Linked DNA regions of Homo sapiens: region 1 is linked to region 2. The links are contacts of gene promoters, found by promoter capture Hi-C in blood cells and fetal thymus (Javierre and others, 2016). All regions are on one chromosome and are shown on one strand. The core of a region is centred on a gene start or on the middle of the fragment in contact, and the rest is flanking DNA. Distances in the headings are between cores, read along the strand shown.

Evidence for each region. The method cuts DNA at HindIII sites, captures the fragments that hold promoters and counts their contacts. A CHiCAGO score of 5 or more calls a contact.
Region 1: a contact is called between a fragment that was not itself captured here and the fragment with the promoter of STON1-GTF2A1L in region 2, in 1 of 17 cell types (neutrophils). The highest score is 5.2, in neutrophils.

What each region holds. Positions count from the first base shown.
Region 1 is chr2:48,095,153-48,097,852 of GRCh38, forward strand. No RefSeq gene overlaps it. Among named protein-coding and RNA genes, the nearest start is that of FBXO11, 190 kb to the left of the region's middle. The HindIII fragment of the contact is 6,013 bases long and covers 1-2,700 here.
Region 2 is chr2:48,528,644-48,531,384 of GRCh38, forward strand. It overlaps STON1-GTF2A1L (STON1-GTF2A1L readthrough), which reads left to right and starts at 1,282. Exons shown (of 11, transcript NM_001198593.2): 1 at 1,282-1,345. It overlaps STON1 (stonin 1), which reads left to right and starts at 1,511. Exons shown (of 4, transcript NM_006873.4): 1 at 1,511-1,573. RefSeq lists an enhancer at 1,504-2,051 and a silencer at 1,643-1,842. The HindIII fragment of the contact is 9,785 bases long and covers 1-2,741 here.

The DNA.
Region 1 (2,700 bases), core at 149-2,648, 430 kb before region 2:
GTGACCCAAATATTGGAATAATCAGGCAGTTCACTTTGAAATAATTATGAGTGTGGTATTATGGGATCTAGTGGAATGGATAGACAAGAGGCATAAACACTAGCTGGGCATAGCGGCATGCACCTGTAGTCCCCGCTACTCGGGAGGCTGAGGCAGGAGGATCGCTTGAACCTGGAAGGCAGAGGCTGCAGTGAGCAGAGATGGTGCCATTGCATTCCAGCCTGGATGACAGAATGAGAACCTGTCTCAAAAATAAATAAATACATAAATAAAAATAAGCAAATAAAGAAATAAAAGACAAGAGGCATAAACATATACACAGACTTATCAGCAAATTGGATACAGTAGAAAGAGTCAACAAACCTAAAGATAGGTGGATAAAAATGATGTAAAGTGAAATACAAATGAAAAAAAAGAATGAGGGAGATAAACAGAATATAGCAACCAAGAGCTGTAGGACAACATCAAAGAGTCTAATATACATATAGTTATAGAAGAAGTAAAGAAGAGAAATTTGAAGAGATAATAGCTGAGAATTTCCAAATTTGATGGGAAAAAAAACAAACAACAAATCACAAATCCAAACTCAGAGAAATAACCTGATTACAGATTGTAGGAGGTTATAAACCTTGACAGTAACCGAAAGGAAAAAAAGAAACCTTACAAACAGAGGAACAGGATGATAATGGCAATAAACTTCTCATGAGAAACAATGCAAGAAAAAAGAAAGTAGAGCAATATCCTTAAAATATTGAAAGACAAAAAATTATCAACTCAGAATATAATACCTGGTTAAAATGATCTCGAAAATTAAATCAAATCTATTTTAGACAAACAACGTCTGAGAGAACTCATTTAGCAAACCTGAAATACAAGACATTAAAGGAAGTTCTTTAGGCAGGGGTATGATACTGGAGGGAAATTTGGATCTACGCAAAATAATGAAGAGTTCCAGAATGGTAAGTGACGGTGAACAGATTACAAGTCTACCTCTGAGTTTTTGTTTTGTCATTACTATTTTGAACTTATTAAAATTAATCACAATATGGGTTATGTTATATGACTTATATTTTAACTTCTTAGCTATCTGAAAGAAACCATAGATCTTTGATAATATTTAGGAAGCATTCAAGTTTTATCAGTAACACATGTATAAGAATCTCTCAAGATAGTTTACTTAATCAAAAGTGACTAATCACATTCCTTCAAATTAATTTTATTATCTAAAATTTCATAAGGTGAACTTACCTCAGATTGTAGCAACACATGTACCTGTACACATACACAAAGATAGAAACATCTATATATGCATCATGTAAGTCCAAAGACATATAAATGGATATAAAAGATACACATATGTATTGATTCATGACTCATTTATTACTTTTTTTTTTAACTTTTATTTTAACCTCAGGGGTACATGTGCAGGTACATAGGTAAACTTGTGTCATGGGGTTTTGTTGTACAGATTATTTCATCACCCAGGTCTTAACCCTTATACCCATTAGTTATTTTTCCTGATCCTCTACCTCTTCCACCCTTCACCCTCTGATAGGCCCTAGAGTGTGTTGTTCCCCTCTGTGTGCCCATGTGTTCTCATCATTTAACTCCCACTTCTCAGTGAGAACATGCAGTATTTAGTTTTCTGTTCCTACATTAGTTTACTAAGGATAATGGCCTCCAGCTCCATCCATGTCCCTGCAAAGGACATTACCCCATTCTTTTTTATGGCTGCATGGTATTCCATGGTATATATGTACCACATTTTCTTTTTCTTTTTTTTTTCTCTTTCTTTTTATTATACTTTAAGTTTTAGGGTACATGTGCATAACGTGCAGGTTAGTTACATATGTATACATGTGCCATGTGACTCATTTATTACTTAAAGTAAGCAATTTACCTTTTACTAGGTACTATGCTAGGGTCTGGAGATAATAACCTAAATTAGTCATGATTAGTACCTGGCTTAAGGAAGCTCATGGTCTAGTGGGAGCCAAATGCAAAATAAATAAACAATATGGAACTGAATGATGTGTGCCACATTAGCCATATACATAAGACACCAAAGCTGCACAGAGAAGGGTAGAATTAATTCTCTCTAGAGGAGTCAGAGAGGACAAGTAATGGTAGAAGATCCTGCCATCACAGGAATAGACGTCTTTTCCATCACAGCAAAAAAAGTCACGTAGTGATGTGCAAAAAGATGGATTGAAGGCAAGCTACTCTCCAGGAAGTTTGTATAATGGTTCAAGTGAGAGATCTAAAGTAGTATTGGTGAGTATGTATCCTGGATAAATTTAGAATATAACAGTCAGACTTGCTGAACAATTGGATGTGGAAGGATGAGAGAGAAGAGGAATTTAGAGTGAATACTGATTTCTGGCAGGTGAGAAAATGAGTAATTATGTTACTAGCTAAGATGGAAATATATAAAGACACAAGAACAAAAGGAAGAGACATTAGCACTCAAGAGATGCAAACAAAATTTTGCAAGCTGGAAAGCAAATGGAGGCGAGAAAACTGATTGCAGAGTGTAGGAGGTTATAAATCACTGAGTGGAACACTGATGAGTGGATAATCACTTGCAAATCCACAAGAACCATGGCGGTGCGAGACATGACAATGAAAAATAGAGGGACAATTATAAGAGTTGTTGGATCCTCATTCTACTCCCTTTTTCCACTTTCAAAACTCTGAACA
Region 2 (2,741 bases), core at 32-2,531:
TTTCCTTCCTCAAAGCCCCGAGGGCAGGTTCTTAACACTGGCTGGAGGTCAAATAGGGTACTGACTATATTTCCATTTCACCAGCGAACTCCAAGGTCAAAAACAAGGCTACACCTGACAGAACATTTAAAAAAGAATTACACTGCTGTGCAAATACAAAGAAGTGTCCACTGATTTTCACCAACCCTGGGTGCACTGCCTATGAGTTAGCCCAGCTCCTCAAGGAAATTTACGATTAAAAAATAATTCATTGCCTTTCCACCTTCCAGCATAGTACTTCAAGTTGAGATGCTCACCGGGGCCTCCTAACCCCTCTCTTTGGATGCAACCCCTTTCTTCCTAGGTGGTCCATCCTACAGGACTGTTAAACCAATATTTCTTATTTGCCATTTTGAATCCTCAAGGATTCACTGAGTGCCTACTCTACACCTTCGCTTGAAAACTTTCAGAGATTTCCTGTATTCTGCTTCATGCCCAGCTCCACCTTCCCATCTAAACATTGCCCACTTACCCTAAGCCTTCCAGTCTTGCCAACCTCCAAAGCACCATGCCATGGGGCCTAAAATGCCCTCTTCTCTCCCCTCTGAGCCTGTTCAAACTCAGCTCAGTCTCTCGTCCTGGGTTTTGGTGTCTCTCCAGGGTAAAGGGGTGGGGAGGGTGCCTTCATTCTGACTGGCTCCCAGTGAGGCAGCCCCCCTTGAGGAAGAGGCTGAGATGCCAAGTGACTTGCCTGGAGTCATTTGCCAGCAGGCGATGGAATAGGGACTACGAGACACCCTGCAGCCTCTCCTGGGAGGACAACGCCCCTTCTCCCTCTCCATGCACTCTTGAGGCAGCAAAGAGGAGGCATCTGGACGCGTTTACCTCCTCCCCACCCCCACAGCTTGGCCCTCACTAAACTATCTTGTGTCCTTCCTCCTGCTATGATTGATTCGCCCAGGAAGGTGGGGCTTCATCTTTACCTTTCAAATATAATTCTTTAGTTCTCCTAATTACAAGGTGGGGGGTGGGGGGTGGGGGTGGGGTGAGGCGGGGGGTACAAAACAAAACAAAACTCCATGAAGCAACTTAGAAAGCACGACCGCAAAGGCCCTCCATCATCCCCACCCAGAGGTGAGGACAAGGTCTGGGGGTGCTGGGTGGCTTCAGACCTTCCACGGGTCCAAGCTATCTGCTTCAAGAGGGCATCGAAAGGTAACTCATAGACTTACCGCCCCCGCCCCCCGACTTTTGCAGGAGGGAGCGCTCTCCCCTCCTCTGGGAGGCTGGAGACTCGGGGACAGAAGATGCGCTGGAGGGAAGAGAACGGAGCGTCGGACACCAGAAAAACTTTGGGGGATTCGGGGTGAGAAAGAAGGCGTGAAGAGAGAAGGGAGGCTCAGCAGGGGAGGAGGGGCGGGGGCGGGGGCGGGAGCGGGAGGAGTCACTGCGCCGCGGCCGCCCCTCCCCGCCCTCCACTCGGCGGCCCCGGGTCTTCCTCCCCCTCCTCCTCCCCCTCCTCCTCCCCCTCCTCTTCCTCCGCCTCCTGGTGTGGCTGGCTGCGGCCAGAATCGGAGCCCCAACCGCGCTGCCGGTGAGTGACCAGCCCCAGGGGACAGAGACGGGAGGCCTGGGACCCCCCCTCTCCAGGGTGGGGCCTCCCGCCGTGTCTGGGAAAGTTTGCGGGCGCCCCGGGACGCGGGCATCTCCAGGGCCGCTCGGCGCCTCCCCATCTCCCCGCGCCCGCCCTGGCCGCCCCCAGGGGCGCCCTGGGGCCCGCAGAGGGATGGCCTCCCGGCAGGGACTCCTCGGCTCCCCTCTGTTCTGAGACTGCTGCTGGGACCGGGGTCCGACTCTAAAGAGAAAACTCAAACAGCAAAAAAAGGAATATCGACTCAGTTCCGAGGGCGGGGGCCGGGGCTCGTTCTCACCCGCGCGCGGCCCCTCGACCTCTCGGACCCGGGCCACCAGCTCTGCGCCCCTCACGCCTCCCTCGGGGTCTCTGTGTCTCTCTCCCGCTCCCGGACTCCCTCCTCCTTCTGACTGCTGTTATTTGGGCTGTTGTCCCTCCCCGCTCCCTGGTACCTCAGCTCGGACCTTAGCCTGTGCCTGCAGCCCGGAGTCCCCTCCTGCCCTGGAAGGCAAGGAGCCAGGCCACGGGGCCACAGCCGCGGGGGCCACCACACTGGCCCAAATATTTCCTGCAGGTATGACCATTCACTGGGTATTGGGGTTGGGTCCCTTGGACCCACAAACTGAACCTCGTGGGTACAGGGAAAAATTAAAATATATTCCTCCTTAGGATTGTACTGCTTCTGTTGGTTTGGCATCTTTTTATTTTTAACCCTTCTAACTGTGCTTTCTTCGAATAATAATGATACTTCATGTAATTAGCGTTTCTAATATCTAAAGACAGAAGAAGGAAGAAAATAAACGGAAGAGAGAGAATGCTTGCTAAAAATACTCATTTTTGACTTCAGTCCACACTCGACTGTTTTCCTGGGAGATAGAAGTTCAGTGTAGCTTGTTTTCAGACTAACCGCAAACACGATTACAGCCTCCTCCAGGCTAGAAGTTTTAATTTGCCTGACATGCAGCACACTGTTTGTTGGTATTCCCAGCCTGGCATTCCCGTCTGCATAGCTCTAGTCTCCCTCCCAACTCCCCCACCCCCACTTTCTTTCTCATAAAAGGGAGCTGTGAAAACAAGGCAATGGGAGAGGCTCAAACGAGCTGGACCACATAATAAAAACAGCCCTACT